Regions from separate parts of the Homo sapiens genome. Here all the other regions are linked to region 3. The links are contacts of gene promoters, found by promoter capture Hi-C in blood cells and fetal thymus (Javierre and others, 2016). All regions are on one chromosome and are shown on one strand. Each heading gives the region's core, a stretch centred on a gene start or on the middle of the fragment in contact. The rest is flanking DNA. Distances are from core to core; before and after follow the strand shown.

Region 1 (2,700 bases), core at 121-2,620, 150 kb after region 3:
GTACTATTAAAATCATTCTTAGGATTGAGAAATTGTATATCTGTCTTAAAGTAAGACCCTGTAGAAATTATGAGATTGTGTACTTGTCACAAGTGATTTTTTTTTTTTTTGGTGGGGTAGGCGGTTAGTATAAATATGGCATGTTCTTCAGCTATTTTTCAAAGTTTGATTCACGGTAATTATACTCAGAGTACTTTGAACATTATGTAACACATTTTTTAGTTCATTATAATCAATTGCAATTAGTTTTTACTTTTGAAGTATGCTATTAGATGTGAATTTATTTGCTTTGTATGGGATATTTCTTTTCAGAAATGCACGTACCCACAGACTGGACAGGACTTTATTCTTTTATAACTACAGACGGATTATACAGGATAGTATGTGAGCCTGCTGTTCTGCCATTTGGTACAGGTTAACTTGTTAATGTTTGAAGATAGGAAGTACGATATATGTGTGTGTGTGTATATATATATATTTTTATATTTATTTATTTATTTATTTATTTATTTATTTATTTATTTTCAGAGGGCGCCTCACTCTGTTGCCCAGGCTGGAGTGCAGTGGTGCAATCTTGGCTCATTGCAACCTCCGCCTCCTGGGTTCAAGCAATTCTCATACCTCAGCCTCCCGAGTGGCTGGGATTACAGGTGCGTGCCACCATGCCCAGCTAATTTTTGTATTTTTAGTAGATACGGGGTTTCATGTTAGCCAGGCTGGTCTTGAGCTCCTGACCTCAAGCAATCTGTTCACCTCGGCCTCCCAAAGTGCTGGGATTACAGGGGTGAGCCACCACACCCAGCCTAGGAAGTACTGTATTTTTAATAAAACTTTTAGTGCAGAGTCTTTCCATGTGATTTTAATAGAAGTTACTTGTTTAAATTTCCACTTCTTAAGTCGCATTTGGGAAACAAGTGGTAGTAGGAAGTGATTCTGTTCTGTTTAGTTTTGCTTCTTTGATTGAATTGGCTTTTCTTTTAGCTAATGAGAATGGTTGGAGTTTGGCAATAACTAAAAGTCAAGAATTGATTCCCCAGGTGTGTTCACTTCAGAAATAAGGCATGGTGCTGTGGGTAACAGAGACATTTGAGAATACTGGCTCCGTCATCCTGCTGCTCACTTTATATTACGTTAGTAGTAGATGCTGAACTCCAGGAAGGCAGTCTGTTGGTGAGGCCTAAGTCACACACATGGTACCTGGCACTGGACAGGTGCCCAGAAGGTGTCTGCTTGCTGAAAGGTGAGATGTGAAGCTTTGCATCTGATAGGACCCTTTCACAGTGACTTGCCCCTCCCCATCAGTACAGAAGCATGCCTTGGCAGACAACGTTTCTAGGATGACAGAAGAGTTGTAGGACCTATTTTGGAGGCTGAACCAGGCTTGGCTCTTGGACATAAACCCCTGTACCACCTTACACCATTTCCCCACCTGCCTGCGGAGGAGGCCCCAGATACCTGCTTACGTTCTCACCTGCTTTCTGGCCAAAGAAGCTTTCAGAGGACCTTCAGCAAAGAACCTCAGAGTTTTAAAAGTCAAATGTATGGGTTTGTTAGAGTCTATGGCTGCCTTAGTATAAAATACCTAATCTATTGTCTGCTGAATGAAACTTCTATTTTATTGCCTTGTAGACTTTTAATTTTTTATCTCTGATGTTTTTGCTTTTTCTTATTTCATCTTAATTCCTATATTTAACTTGTCCTCATACTGTTTTAATTTTTTTTCCCTTTAAGAATAACTTTAGATGTGACCATTTTTCTCCTAAAGATTAGTCATAGTTCGTTTTTCTACTCTTCTAAAGTAAATGATTTATGAACACTTAATTTGTGTGCATGTTGAGGCAACAGGTGGTGAGTGTGGCATTGTGGGGGGCGGTGGGTTCAGGGAGCAGCAGGAGCCCAGGCATAGAGAGCAGCGGGGAGGCTCCGGCCCTGTCCTTTCACACAGGCGCCCTTCAGGGCTCATTCTTCAGGAAAATGGCACACCTCATAATTCAGGAATACATCCGTTTCACAGTCCTTCCTTGAACATGGGGAATTCTCCCCTTCCAGATAATACACTTGAATTATCCCAATAGCGCTTTTTCCTCAGGTCTCATACCAGTGAGGTGTGAGGAGGGGCTGGTGGCCTGGACAGATCTCCCTCAGGCAGCTTCTGATCACATGAAGAGCCTGCTCATTCCATTTCTGATAACATTTCTCCATATAGTTCAGTTGATTTAAAGCTGAGATAAAAATACTGTGAAGCTAAGACTGTGTGTCATCAGAGCTATATAAGATCTGCTTTCACTCCTGCCTCTGCTGACTCAGCCTGGATTCAAAGCACAGTTGATCCTGTTCTTTAGGCGAAGGTGCCCTAAACCGGGGGCACCTCTCGGGCTGCCATGTAAACTTCGTGTCCGTTGAGCACCTTTTTATATGCTCGTTGACCATTCGTATGTCATCTTTTGTAAAGTGTCCAAGTCTTTCGCCTCCTGTTTTTTCCATTTTGGGGATATTTTGCTTTTTGTTAGTTTTAGTTCTTTATATGTCAAGGATACCAGTGTTTTGTCAGATATATTTTGCTAATATTTTCTTCAAGTCTGAGGCTTGCTAATCATTTTCTTAATGGTGTCTTTGGGTGAGCAAATGTTTACTTTGGGGAAACCTAATTTATTGGTTTTATTTTATTTTTGCAGTTATTGCCTCTGTGACATAAGAAAC
Region 2 (2,760 bases), core at 74-2,573, 170 kb after region 3:
CTTGAACCTGGGAGGCGGAGGTTGCAGTGAGCCGAGATTGTGCCACTGCCCTCCAGCCTGGGTGACAGAGTGAGACTCTGTCTCAAAAGAAAAAGAAAAAGAAATATGGATATCCTGGATTTAGACTCTAAGGAATGACCTAGGTCTGGAGTCAGCAAACTTATCTTGTAAAGGGCTAGAAAGGAAATACTTTAGGCTTTGTGAGCTATGTGATCTCTTTTGCAGCTGTTCAACTCTGCCATTGCAGCACAAAGCAGCCAGTGGGATATGTACACAACTGAGTGTGGCCGGGTTCCAATAAAACTTTATTTACAGAAAAAGGCAGGCAGGCAGAATTTGGCCTACAGGCTACAGTTTGCTGACCCTTGACCTAGCTGTACTAGGACAATGGTCCCCAACCCTTTTGGCATCACAGACGGTGGCTGGGGGAAGAAGGGGGATGGTTTTGGGACGAAACTGTTCCACCTCAGATCAAAGGAGCGTGCAACATAGATCCCTCACGTGTGTAGTTCACAGTAGGGTTCGAGCTCCTATGAGAATCTAATGCCGTCCCTGATCTGACAGGAGGCGGAGCTCAGGTAGTAATGCTCACTCATATGCTGGTCACCTCCTGTTGTGCGGCCCAGTTCCTAACAGGCCACAGACCCATACTGGCCCACAGCCAGCGATTGAGGATCCTTGTACTAGGAGATCTCCAGGAGTCTGGATCTTTCCAAGCCTGACACCTGCTTGCCCTGTATTCCCTGTTCACTTGGAGTATGAATGGACTGCGGAATCTCTTTTCCGTATGCTGAGATAGAAAGTCAATTAAAAGCAACAGCTCTGCTCTAACCTCATAGAGAAAGTCCTATCCGGTTTGTTTGTGGTGACCTGAATGCATTTTCCTATAGGAGATAGTGGTTATAAATGGGCTTAGAAGTTTGAAGTTGAAAGTCCTTGACAAATCTCTGCTATCTCAAAATCTAACAAAAATGGAACTATTCGGGGTATTATACTTGGAATATTAATGGTTCCTTGTGTATAATGGTGGGCTAAATTGACTTTCCTATGCCAATCTGGAACCTAACCAGCTCACCCAGAGTTTCAAACAACTGCCTAACAAATGAACTTTTGAAACAGTCTGTTTTAAACGTTAACATTGCCTGTTATTTCATTGTTTAATATGACAGTGTTGTATTCCTAAACACTTCTCTTATGAAACTCTGCTGTATATGGTGATTCTTTTAAAACTATATATCCCAAAGACCTCTTATCCAGATGCACATCCACGACAGTGGCGCGAGCCTGTTCTTTTTATGGGTTTATTAGAGGATTGTGGTCATCTCCTTTGTCCACACTGATGAAGTAGTAGTGCTCTAGGGCAAGGAAACCAGTGTTCTAGGGCAGAGCTACTGAAGCACTCCCAGAACAGGTAAATCTGTTTTTAAAACCAGGCCTAGGCCGGGCGCGGTGGCTCACGCCTGTGATCCTAGCACTTTGGGAGGCCGAGGTGGGCAGATTGCCTGAGGTCGGGAGTTCGAGACCAGCCTGGCCAGCATGGTGAAACCCTCTCTCTAATAAAAATACAAAAATTAGCCAAGTGTGGTGGCGGACGCCTGTTATCCCAGCTACTTGGGAAGCTGAGGCAGGAGAATCACTTGAACCTGGGAGGCGGAGGTTGCAGTGAGCCGAGATCGCGCCATTGCACTCCAGCCTGGGCAACAGAGTGAGACTCTGTCTCAAAAAAAAAAATAAAAATAAAAATAAAACCAGGCCTGACACCAAAGACGGTTGAGGAGCAAGAATTTCCAATGGCCTCGATGTTTTCAATCCAGCATGAGGCCCGCCTTCAAGGAAGCAGTGTGCTTCCTACATCCTGGTTCCCATAGAGGGGATTCATTTCTAGAAGAGTTAAAGGTTTGGCCCGGATCCACTTGGATCACACCAAACACGACTTCCATCATATTCTGAAAGATGATAATGCAGAGAGTCTATAAGCATAAAACTGGAATTTGACCATGTAATTCTGCTCTCATCCTATAGCCTTGCATCTCAAACTGAGCTATGAGTCTATTTTTAAATCCCCACCCCACCATTTATTAGGGGGATGACCTTAATGCTTCTGTTCCTCAAATTCCTTATCTGTAAAATGTGAATAATAATAATAGGTAATAATGAGGATTAAGTGAGCTTTAGTATTTACAAATTTTAACATGAGGTATTTATTTGTTAAAAGGTGCTTAGATTGGTGTGTGGCAAAGAGCAAAGCTAATGTATTTGGTATTACAAATATACATCCCACAAAACCTCCAGTGTATGCCTGGGAGGATGCAAAACCACAGGATAAAGGGTGGCAAATCTTACTCAATAACTTAGGGAGCAATTGTGTTTACATTACAACAAACATTCTATCAGGAAATAGAACAACTATGAGATAAAACATGACCCTTCAAGAAATACTCTGCAAATTCTAGCCAGTTGAGAGCAGTTCAAATTCCCTGGGTCTGTGTTCACTTTTCTCTATTAGGAGTGTTTTACAGGAAACATCTAAGAATATTTGGCTTGTCTTTCCAAGGATGGCTTTGAAGAGTGAACCATGTTAGTGTTTCTAAAAGATTTGACTGTCTCATGCGATTGAGACTGATCTGAGCTACAGAAACTCTGTATGACTACTGTAGGTTTCTAATGTCATTTTTTAAAAACTTTAAAAATATACCATACTTCATTAATTTGCTTGTCTTTTTTGGTTTTTATTTTCCTTTTGTTTTTACTGAGAACCGA
Region 3 (2,965 bases), core at 446-2,945:
CCTCTCAGCTACAACGTGCGGAAATCTCACTGCCCGATGTGCTAATCACAGAATTGCACAGGTACTCCCTGAATCCAACTTGGGTTATTAAAACAACAATGAGGCTTAGGCATTTGGCTCAGTCCACCCCCAGGGTGACCAGCTGGTCACCTCACTCCGCAACCCAAATCCAGGGGATTCATTCGTTGTCTAGGAATAACTTCTTCCACCTTGGGAATTCTCTGATTTACTCTTACCTAGGTCCACTGGTCTTGACCAAAATGTGAGGTGTCCTTAACTTAAGGTTTTGACTTTTAAGAGGCAGTCGAGGAAATAATATTATGAGGTCTGTCTATTTCTTTAGTGGTCAAAGACAGATAAGTAAAAAGGCAAAGCTAGAGTCCGAATGTATGGCTGCAGGTTCAAGATTCCAGGCCAAGTTCTTGGAACTCCAGCACCTCTAGACTCACCAGCCCCACCAGCCCCTCTGGCCCCTCCAGCCCCACCAGCCCCACCAGCCCCACCAGCCCCTCCAGCCCCTCCAGCTCTGCTGCAGGAAATCCTGCCTCAGGGAATCATGATGCACCACCCAAGGAAGTATTTGCAGAAAAAAGAGATTCCATTATTGCCTTCCCTCAAGGGTGGTGTTGAGCCCATTAAGCTTTTCCCCAGCAGTACACAGAGTAATCTTAGGGATTCTGGTGGGAAAAATATCCCAAATTCTGCTTCCTTATGCTTCACCACATGACCCTAGGGCACACGCACTAATCAAGAACAGCCCAGGGCATCCTGTCACCCCCCACGGTGCACCTGCAAACTGGCTTTTACAGCAACCTTGTCTTCCAAATGGGTCCGTATCTTTCTAGGCATCTTTTGTAATGCTAACCTGTTTGGCATTACCCAGAAATGCTAACATTTCTACCACTTTAACTAATCTTAAGAGATTAAATCACACTCCATGATACTCCTGACAACAAATAGCATTTTAACCAGTAATTTACGATAAGAAGATTTTCAATCAGTGGGCTAAGCCCTTCCCTGGTGATTTAAGAAACTGCCAGCCTCGATGGAGATTCTTCCATCAATTCCTCATCATTATAAAAGAAACAATGGAGGAAAAACTCATCCAATTAAGTGACAATTCCAATGTGTAAATCTTGTAATATTTTTTGCATTTGTGATATGGGTTCTACACTAAAAATGCAACTTGTCTAATCTGAATGAGATGAAAAATCCTGAAAAAGGATGTTATCCTCAATATTTTGTTTGTGCCTCTTGATTTAGTAAACTCCCAACCACTTTTTCATCCTTCCCTGCCAAACCCCGCTACAAAATGTTTCTCATTATGACCTGAGACATTAATTCTGATTGTAGAGGTTTTAGATCATTTCTTCTAGGTGTTAATCAGTTCTGGCCATATGGTGAGGGTGAGGTAATCATTATTACTTTACAATGAATGCCCTTAATTACTTTTTCAGTAGTAATATTAGTCCTTCTGTTTATTTGAGTACCTAAGAGCTGCAGGCAACGTGATCTGAATTACATGGAGGACAAGCTCCAGCTGACTTTCCGTAAACTCGCATTAGGATTCTAATAGGAGACGACAGGAGCAGGTGGGGATAATGAGCTGGCGGAAGGGGCTGCCTATCACACTGCTCGGTGGCCCCTCTTTCACCCCCACTTTGCCTCAGGCATTTTCTACTCAGCTGTGACCTTACTTATGGTGATGCCAATCCAGTGGTCAGGAGCGAGGCGCCCAGCCTGTGTCTGAATCCTCCTACTGACCCTGGGGATCCGTGCGACTTGATCTTAGATATTGGTGGTGAAGCGCCGCTCTCCTTGACAGCATCCAGGAAAGGTAATTACCTTTGCCAAAATGCAAGTGGAAGTTCAAAGCCTCAGCCTTGAAGAGTGTCCCTGGAGACTTCCAGGCCCCCAATGTGAATGTGAAGCCCTCCTGCCCAGTGGGGCAAGGCGCCGGATTGACCTTCGCCTGAGTGGGAGGGCAGTCGCTGTTTGGGTCCACGTTAGGGGCGGTCCAGGTCAATTTAACTTGTCATATGCCACGGGAAGACATAAGGTAAGTTAATGATTCTAAGATGAATCAACTGCTCTTTGAGTCAGTCAGTATCTCTTGAGAATTCATTCACTCAATCCATGAATGTTTTTGACTCTCTACTATGTGTTATGGAACTGGGCTTAACGACATTGAAGTAAAGAGAGAGACAGAGATTAATTCACTGCCCCAAAGAAGGCCTGGAATCTTCTTAGGGAAAAGAATCCTCACAAAACACTCCACTGAGTATTCTTGTGTTTAGCCTGAGTCATGTTGATTTGAAAAATTCCAGCGTAAAAATTGTATATTTTCACACAGTGTGGTAGAAGGAATGCGCTTGTTCTCAGACTATGTTTTGCCCTGGAGATGGGTCCACAGGAAGCCTCTATCTTGGTCACCCTTTGGCACAAGCTTTGCACCTGTTCCCTTCTCCTTGCCTAGATTCTTGTCTCTTCTCTCGCTTTAAAGACCAGGAGTTGTTGTTGTTGTTTTAGAGATAGTATCTTGCTCTGTCACCCAGGCTGGAGTGCAGTGTCACAATCATAGCTCACTGCAGCATCAACCTCCTGGCTTCAAGTGATCCTCCCAGAGGAGCCTCCCGGGTGGCTAGGACTACAGCCATGTGCCATCAGGCTTAGCTAATTTTTTTATTTTTTGTAGAAATGGGGTCTTGCCATGTTGCCCAGGCTGGTCTTGAACTCCTGTCCTCAAACGATCCTCCCACTTCAACATCCCGAAGTGCCACCCATGCCCAGCAAGACCTGGATCCTTAACTCTTTGCCTGTCTTTGATCTTTGACACCTCCTGATCCCCAAGCCCCTGCCTCCCACTAGGCAGGCATTTTTGGTTAAAGTATGAGCTCCCACTTTGTATTTATCTCCAGCTTTGGGTGTTCAGTTTGATGGGAACCACAGGTGTCCCCACCTAGTT
Region 4 (2,700 bases), core at 125-2,624, 240 kb after region 3:
AATTTATACTGTCTTGATTCACCTTGACAATAAAATTATCTATGCTTTTTTACTTCAAATAAGTTATTATCAAATAAGCAGAAGATATCTTATTTACATACCATAAAATTCTGCTGTAGGGGAGACCAAGAATACATTATGGGTACTGAAGCAACTGCATTCAGAGTCTTTAATGGGATGACTTGTGTTGGAAAATCCAAGTCACTGGTCACCGAACACTAAAACAGAAAAAATAAAATTGACTCTTAAGAATAAAAGGACAACCTTAAGCTGTAGCCATCATATTGTAAAGAGATGCTGCCTACCCAAATATTTAATTTTGAAAAAAAAGTCCTTACCTAGGACAGTAAAGTGGTCATATAAACCAAATAGGATTCTCTCTTTTCTTTTACTTAGGGTGCAAAAATGCTTCAAATTTTCCAAATTTTCAAAACCTCCAACCCTTCCCATACTTACCAATATCAGTAAGAATCAAAAACTGTACTTATATGAGATTCAGCGATCTGATTAACTCCTCCATGCTTTTCCTATACATTTATTTCCTAGCTCATCCTTCATTTCTCTTACATTCCAACCACACAGAATAGTAATATGTATACCAAATAAGCCACTTAAATCTTACTTAATAAGAATAAGAAAACTTGGGCCGGGCGCGGTGGCTCACGCCTGTAATCCCAGCACTTTGGGAGGCCGAGACGGGCGGATCACGAGGTCAGGAGATCGAGACCATCCTGGCTAACACGGTGAAACCCCGTCTCTACTAAAAATACAAAAATTAGCCAGGCATGGTGGCGCGCGCCTGTAGTCCCAGCTACACGGGAGGCTGAGGCAGGAGAATGGCGTGAACCCGGGAGGCGGAGCTTGCAGTGAGTCGAGATCGCGCCACTGCACTCCAGCCTGGGCGACAGAGCGAAACTCCGTCTCAAAAAAAAAAAAAATAAAATAAAATAAAATAAAAAGAATAAGAAAACTTGTTCAGTTAATCTTCCTTATCTTCCTTTTTTAAAATCTAAGTGTCAATTGCTGATATTATCAGATGATACATAAATATTAAGGGTAATGGGTTTGTGTTTCAATCACAACAAAGTAAATTTAAGTCTATTCTGCAAAACTGTAATCTCTGAATTAATAATATTAGCTGATTACTAAGTACTTTCTATGTGCTAGGCTATTTTAAACACATTACATGTCTTCTATTTAATCCTCATTACAACACTGTAAGATGGGTACTACTCTTAGCCCCCATTTTACAGGTGAGAAAACTATAGAAAAGAAAGGATAAGTAGCTTGCCCAAAGTTGCGCATGGTTCTCGGGCTAGAATGTAAACTCCAAAAGCCTGACTCTGGAGCCCCTGCTCTTCCCGCTCCTTATATTGCCATGATACCATATTGCTAAAATGTGTCAGTGCACATAGTCCCTTGAAACACCATATTTCATACAATCTATGATGACAGCGATTTCAAGGTACATCATTATCTTCTGTATCACTAAGAAAAAATGCTGCCAACTAAACAAAGGTATAATCCATTCTTATCACAGTGATTCTAAGATGCATGTTGTTTCCAATGTTAAAATGTGAAAAATTTTGCATCTTTGATTCTCTGAAATATGGTATAACTCTGTGCCTAAATAACCACAGCACTTTCCACCCTGTCTACGAATCCGAGATTCCTTAAAGAGTACTACTGCCCAGGTGTAAGTCCTCCAGAGCCTTCTCAAAAATATCCTAGACATACATTCATAATCCACAATCAATGAAAATAGAGCAAAAAAGAAGTGTAGTAAAATGAAACTGAAAAATCATTATATATATATATATACACACACACACACACACACACACACACACATATTAAATGTTTAAATTTTTTATTTAAAATGTCTTAAAAATAGCAGAACTAGTTGTGGTGAAATTCAGAGTAGAAATCTGGCATATGGGCCACACCTGACCCTCAGCATTGGGTTGCATCAGGCCAGTGGGATAATCTCTCAATCATCACAGTCACTGCAGCACAAAAATAATTCCTTCCTTAGTGGAAGTAAAGGTTTAAGGATGGAGTAGTTAGGAAGAACTGTGACAGTGATTCATCTATTAATTTGCTTTCCAAAAAGGCAAAGATAAAGGTAATAATACTAATAAGGCTCTTAACTCGAGTAAACAAGAAGGTGTGAACAGTTTACTAACACTCCAGAGCCCACAATCTTTCCCCTTCCTGCTATTTGGCCTCTGATACAATCCTTCATCCATCCATCCAATAATCCAATAAAAACAGCAGTTAACATTTATTGAGCACGTACTATGTTGCAGGCACTGTGCTAAGTGCTTGTATATATTATCTTAATTATTCCTCATTACAACCTTATGGTGTAGTTTTAGCATCAAAACTTCACAAATGAGGACACTGAGGTTCAGAGAAGTTATACAATTTGTCTAGTCAGAAAGGTAGCAAATTACAAAACCAGGATTAAAACCTGGATTTAAAGTCTGACTGCAACACCCGTGAGCTTAATTAATTACTGCACTGTAGTTCTTGCCCTTGCAATGCTCATGGGGTAAAATAACAATTACAGCCATGCAGTATTTACTATATAAAACAGAGACATGGCTGGGCACAGTGGCTCAAGCGTATAATCTCAGCACTTTGGCAGGCCAAGACGGGCAGATCGCTTGAGCCCAGAAGTTCAAGACCAGCCTGGGC
Region 5 (2,924 bases), core at 1-2,500, 220 kb after region 3:
TTTGCAGCGGCATCCCGGAAAGCGGTTTTGACCTTCAGAGAGAGGTTTGGAGGTTCTTCACTCATCACCGTATGCAAAAACTTGCAGAAAGATACGTGGCAAGGGCTGTACTGGGCATCTCACTGACTCTCAACCCTCACAACCACCTTATTACCCTACTATATAGACAAGGAAATGGAAGTATTAACAGCGAAGTTATAGCTGTTTGCACTGAAAAAGACCACCACTGAGTTGTTTTTCCATTTTTCATTTGTTAAATAGTGTATATATTTAAAGTCGGTGTGAATAAAGGGTCTGGATGGAACAATATCCATGGTCCTTGACCATTCCAATAGCCCCTAGTTCTAAACACTCCCTTAATACCCAAGCTTCATGTGCAGTCTCATTAAACAATTATAAAAATCTACTATGTTTATGCTACATTCCTTTAATCTGAAGACTAAAACCCTCCTAACTCTGACGATTTCTGGTGCCCAAAAATTATTTGGGTAGCTCCTTCTAGATTCCTCTTACAATCTGTGCCAACTTTAATACAACTTAATTTAAATGATCAAAGAAGAAAAAAATAAAATTCAGGTTCCTTTAATACAACTTTGCCTGCCTCACACACACAGACACACAACACCCAGGCGACTGACTGGCCACTGGCACAGGGCCAGGTATGGGGCTCAATAAATACTTGTCAAATTGATGAGTTTCGTCAAGTAAACAAGGGAGTGCTCCCATGTTCTTATTTTTGATTTTTTAAATTGCTAACCAAAGACCTATTTAGTTCTCATGCAATTGCATCAAAGCAACAAATACTTACACTCTGAACTACATTGACAAAACTTTTCACAAAAATTTTGTGCTATCACACAAGGGCACGAACTGTCACAAGGCTGCCGTGGATGATCACAGGGTTGATAGTTGTAAACATGGTTAGAGGAGCCGTCTGAGTAAAGATAACATCATGCAGGCCAATGAATCCAGGGAGATGGAAACGATCATACACAATTAACACGAGTACATTCTTCCCTACTACCTGTGGAGTGTAGCTGGCCTGCCTTTACTGAATGCATAACATTACACATATTCCGGTTTCCACAACGATGGCAAAAAATACTCTCCCACCCCCAAGTGCTTATGAGTTCCATCTAAAGCACGGCTACATCTCAGTCCCATCCCAAAGCACTTCTCCTTCAACTGACTCGGACTCACACCTTCCAGTCAGCCTCCACTTTACAGAAGAGAATTGACTGGGGATTCATCAGTAGACGTCCTCCATTCAAATTGGTTTAACATACAGAAGGCAATTATATTAGAATAACCCAAGCTCTAATCCAGTTACTATTCTAAAACAAATGAAAACAAAGCAGATATTGTTAAGCTAATAATGAGAGGAATGGAAAGATGCTAACCCTTTTTCAGCTGTATCTTTCTGCAGTGTGCAGCCCACAACCTGCAAAAACACAAAGAAAATTAAACCAAATTTCTGCGGGAAGCTACAAATCCAACAGAGAGCTGCTTAACTGGATCTATCTGTGCCATGAATACAGGAATGCGTTAAAGCCAAGAGTCATGCCCTGCCCAGTTTATATTTGCCATCAGTTTGAAGCAACTCAAACAGCTTGATGGCTCAGGCTGCCCCAGGTGTGGCAAGACGTCATTTCCTGTGTTCATCCATGACTCCTGGTCAGAACTCCTGAGCTCCCAATGCTGCACAAAGCAGCAGGTGTGTCTGCCTGTTGATTTATTCTGATGTGGATGACACTGATCACTTCCTCTTATTTCAGGCATCATAAACCAAGCAAGTGAACTACGTGGTCAGAAATAATTCAACCAAAATTTCAGAAGCATCTCCTAAAGCCTAAAAAATAAAAATAAAAACTTGACTTTAAAAAAATTCTAAATTGGGTTGGCCCTACACTTATTTTTGTTAAAGTAAGAAAATGTAACATGAGCCTGTACACAATTTAAGAAGCATAATCTAACTGCACCCTTACCTACCCAATTAGGTTTCTCATTTTTAAAAATGTGAGGTAGAGGTATGGGGAGATTAGAGCAGATAGTCCACTCATCAATTTTTCTGGTTCTACATTTACAAATCAAATCAGCCTGAAAACATTCGCTAAGGTGAAAATAACATTCACACAAGCTTAAAGTAGGGTACCCATTAGGAGTATCGGAATGCAATGCCACACAACTTAGAAATTCAAGCTCCTGGAATAAAAGATACTTCTAAAAACTGGCCCAGAGCTCACATCAGAAACACAGAACATTTCATGATGTTAAAGTAATTGTTTACGTAACCTTTACTGCAAAAGCTACTAAATATGTTTTTCTTAACCCAAATGCAGTCTGGTAACCGTAATTTTTATGACTCTTAACATACCAAATATACTGAAGGCTGCTGTATTCTTATAGAAAAATACTAGCAATTCCCAGTGGAAATAAGATTCCATAGTTCTGTTTTTGATGGCAGTTTAAGGTTTTTTAAAAATAGACTAAGTAGAAACCAACAACAGCCCTTAGGAAGGGCCTTGCCTGCAGTGTCTATCTATGTTGACTTCTCTAAGGAGCTTCATGACAGACTCACCGGTGTTTCCTCTTCTTTTTCCTTGGAGGAGTATCCACATCCTCAGCGGGAGCTGGAGCTATGATGCTAGATTCTTTGACTCTAAACTCATACACCTGACAAGAGGCACAGTCACAGAGCCATGAGGACAGTCTTATTTAGGCAAACCATTCTTATACTCATGCATACCAGAAAAATGTCTTTGTCTCTTCTGTGACACTGCTAGATGCTGGGGATATAACACACATCGCTGTCCCTACCCTCACATTAGGGGTAGCTGTAATTATATTCTGGTCAAGAACTGTGATGCTAAATTTCAATTCTTACTAGCTTTTAAAAGCTACTGCTATCTAACCTTAAAAGTCTA
Region 6 (2,828 bases), core at 212-2,711, 200 kb after region 3:
TGCTTAAAGTGCTTTACAAGAGAGGCAGACACCTGGCGTTTGTATTTTACTTTTATGTAAGCACTGACTTTGTACTGTAAGCTTGGAACAGTGGGCTTTACTTAGAAACGCTGCCTGTAGGATGTGGTGAGATCTGTATTCCATATAATGCTGTCCTTTTATCTAGTTGGAACGTAGTTATCAGCGATTCACAGCTTTCTACGCCAGCCGCCACAGTGGCCGAAAATTGACGTGGTTATATCAGTTGTCTAAAGGAGAATTGGTAACTAACTGCTTCAAAAACAGATATACTTTGCAGGTAAGATCACATTTTTATCTTAAAATTTTTCTATTCTAAATGAACATAAGGCAAATTATGGAAATCATTATCAGCTGACTCAGCAGCAGAATCTAGAATTCAGCTTCTGGTGAAATAGTGGCAGGTTTAAAGCATGGAGTTGTAAGAATCAGATGAACCAAATTCCAATTCTTTCTGGCTGGGGAGCAAGTTATTTAATGATTGTGAGCCTCAGTTTTCTCCTCCATTAATGGGAGTGTTAGTACTTTATAGTTGGGAATTGATGTGAAAATTAAATAATGTATTTAGTAAGTGTTTGGCACCGCTCCTGCCTGACACACATCAGCTGTTCAGGTAGTGACTTCAAAAGCTGGAGTTGCATGCATTTCATTATATCAGCTCTCCACCTTACACAGAGCACTTTCACATTAATAACACTCAGTGCTGACAACAATATTGAGTACAACCTAATTTATACCTATGTAACTAAGAATATTTCCATTTCTTAGAGGAGAAAACTGAGGCTTGGGTTAATTTAAGTGAATTTCTCTGAATCCTAGCTTATATGTAGCTGAGCCAAAATTTCAGTTAAAGTCTTTTCTCTTAAAGTCTAGGCTTGGGCTGGTGTGGTGGCTCACGCTTGTAATCCTCACGCTTTGGGAGGCTGAGACCAGAGAATCACTTGAGGCTAGGAGTTTGAGACAAGCCTGGACAACATAGCAAGACCCCATCTCTAGATATTTTTTAAAGTAAAAAGAAAAAAAAGTCCAAGCTCTTTCTACTTCCACTTTTGTACTGAGTGGTCTTCACAAGTAATGGCATATTTTAGTCTCTGAGAAGTTTTCACCAGTGAGTTTCTAAGAAGAATTGCAAATCTGTGTTTAAGTATTAAGAAACTCCAGAATGGGTTGTTCTGCAGACTCAAGCTGCTCATTAATTTAAACTTTTCGTAAATCTACTGTGACTTAAAATTGTTAAAATGCATAGTATTATGCTGGCTCCAGAGGTCTTTATCAACTTGAATGTTTCTTACTATACAATTGAAATTTTGTTTCATTTATCCCCAAATATACATAGAAGAATCCATGTGTTCCACTACAGTACCTGGAATTTCAGTGTCCAGTTTTTGACGGTGGAGGCTTTGCCTAGGGTGTGTCTGCCGTGTTAAGGCAGCCCGGAGCGGGCCCAATAGAAAACATTAGCAACACGCTCGTTCCCTTGTATCTCTGTTCAAGGCCCTGGAAGCAGTGTTGTCTGTGGGCCGCCCTGAAACAGGCATGTGGCGTTTTTTGTTTCTCTTTCCATTGACCAAGGTCTTGCCGAGAGGCAAGCAGTGACTGACAGTCATGGGTCATTACTTGTTGCTGTCGATTATGCAAGAAAACAGGGAGAAGAGAAGGAAGGCGTCCTCGGGGTGTTCATTCGCTTGCACACACTCAGCAATCAGGAACCAACACGTGCTACCTGTCTTTTAGAAGATACTTTAGGGCCGGGTGCAGTGGCTCAGCCTGTAATCCTAGCACTTTGGGAGGCCAAGGCAGGCAGATCACAAGGTCAGGAGTTCGAGACCAGCCTGGCCAGCATGGCGAAACCCCATCTCTACTAAAATACAAAAATTAGCTGGGTGTGGTGGTGCACGCCTATAGCCCCAGCTACTCTGGAGGCCAAGGCAGGAGAATCCCTTGAACCTGGGAGGCGGAGGTTGCAGTGAGTCGAGATTGTGCCACTGCACTCCAGCCTGGGTGACAGAGCAAGACTTTGTCTCAAAAAAAAAAAAAAATAGAAATTTAGTACACTTGCCATTTCATACTTTACTTACTTTTTTCATACTTTCATAGTAAAGTACTTAGGATTAGAAAACCAAATATAATTTGATATTTGTGTTGTTTTACATCAATAATGTGCCAAAAGATAATATTCCTTAGCTCATGTGCCAAAAACAGATTTGGAGATTGATGCTTAACATGTCCATATATACCAGGTGTGTGTATATGTGATTGTCTCTATAAATGCGTGGGGACGTATCTATAGTATGTATCCACATAGACAATACGTTTTTTAAAAAAAACCCTCAAATTATTTTAATGTTTGTAAACATGGAAAATGAATGACTTTGGGAAAATGTTGCATTGTAGTGGCATTGCCACGTTTTATATTCCCTTTTAAATAGATCTGTGCTTTTTTTGTACTTGTTTAAAGAATTTGTTTCATAAATAAGTTCTTCAAACTTGGGCTGTATATTTTGGGAGGTGTTTCCATGCATGTAAATTTTCCTTCTTTTTCTTTTATATGGGGGGCCGCAAAGGCGTCGACATTCCAGATGGCTATCCTGCTTCAGTACAACACGGAAGATGCCTACACTGTGCAGCAGCTGACCGACAGCACTCAAATTAAAATGGTATTCTCATCTCAGGCTCGTTGTTCTATCAGCTTGCCGTTTCCTTGTTCTCGTGGATATTGTTAGGAAAGATAAGGAAGAGGATATGGGCATCTTTAATTTGAAATAGATGTTTGCCTCATGAATATGAATATGGCCTTATTCCAGGATTTT

Evidence for each region. Contacts are between HindIII fragments. The CHiCAGO score rates a contact against its expected background, and 5 or more counts as called.
Region 1: a contact is called between a fragment that was not itself captured here and the fragment with the promoter of C7orf33 in region 3, in 11 of 17 cell types (activated CD4 T cells, naive CD4 T cells, total CD4 T cells and 8 more). The highest score is 12.6, in activated CD4 T cells.
Region 2: a fragment that was not itself captured here is called in contact with the fragment with the promoter of C7orf33 in region 3 in 10 of 17 cell types (activated CD4 T cells, non-activated CD4 T cells, naive CD4 T cells and 7 more); the score reaches 14.4 in activated CD4 T cells.
Region 4: a fragment that was not itself captured here is called in contact with the fragment with the promoter of C7orf33 in region 3 in 8 of 17 cell types (non-activated CD4 T cells, naive CD4 T cells, activated CD4 T cells and 5 more); the score reaches 10.3 in non-activated CD4 T cells.
Region 5: a contact is called between a fragment that was not itself captured here and the fragment with the promoter of C7orf33 in region 3, in 9 of 17 cell types (activated CD4 T cells, non-activated CD4 T cells, total CD4 T cells and 6 more). The highest score is 13.7, in activated CD4 T cells.
Region 6: a contact is called between a fragment that was not itself captured here and the fragment with the promoter of C7orf33 in region 3, in 4 of 17 cell types (activated CD4 T cells, naive CD8 T cells, non-activated CD4 T cells and 1 more). The highest score is 10.6, in activated CD4 T cells.

What each region holds. Positions count from the first base shown.
Region 1 is chr7:148,737,094-148,739,793 of GRCh38, forward strand. All of the region lies in intron 2 of CUL1 (cullin 1), which reads left to right. Among named protein-coding and RNA genes, the nearest start is that of CUL1, 40 kb to the left of the region's middle. The HindIII fragment of the contact is 238 bases long and covers 1,252-1,489 here.
Region 2 is chr7:148,761,427-148,764,186 of GRCh38, forward strand. The region is part of intron 7 of CUL1 (cullin 1); the gene reads left to right. Among named protein-coding and RNA genes, the nearest start is that of CUL1, 64 kb to the left of the region's middle. The HindIII fragment of the contact is 4,501 bases long and covers 1-2,760 here.
Region 3 is chr7:148,589,071-148,592,035 of GRCh38, forward strand. It overlaps C7orf33 (chromosome 7 open reading frame 33), which reads left to right and starts at 1,696. Exons shown (of 3, transcript NM_145304.4): 1 at 1,696-2,059. The coding sequence starts at 1,856. The HindIII fragment of the contact is 1,806 bases long and covers 639-2,444 here.
Region 4 is chr7:148,832,533-148,835,232 of GRCh38, forward strand. EZH2 (enhancer of zeste 2 polycomb repressive complex 2 subunit) reads right to left here. Exons shown (of 20, transcript NM_004456.5): 4 at 102-218. Among named protein-coding and RNA genes, the nearest start is that of EZH2, 50 kb to the right of the region's middle. The HindIII fragment of the contact is 3,642 bases long and covers 1-2,700 here.
Region 5 is chr7:148,814,106-148,817,029 of GRCh38, forward strand. It overlaps EZH2 (enhancer of zeste 2 polycomb repressive complex 2 subunit), which reads right to left. Exons shown (of 20, transcript NM_004456.5): 12 at 2,579-2,673; 13 at 1,401-1,441; 14 at 809-934; 15 at 1-32. Among named protein-coding and RNA genes, the nearest start is that of EZH2, 69 kb to the right of the region's middle. The HindIII fragment of the contact is 1,769 bases long and covers 367-2,135 here.
Region 6 is chr7:148,790,144-148,792,971 of GRCh38, forward strand. It overlaps CUL1 (cullin 1), which reads left to right. Exons shown (of 22, transcript NM_003592.3): 16 at 167-298; 17 at 2,583-2,675. Among named protein-coding and RNA genes, the nearest start is that of CUL1, 93 kb to the left of the region's middle. The HindIII fragment of the contact is 2,765 bases long and covers 80-2,828 here.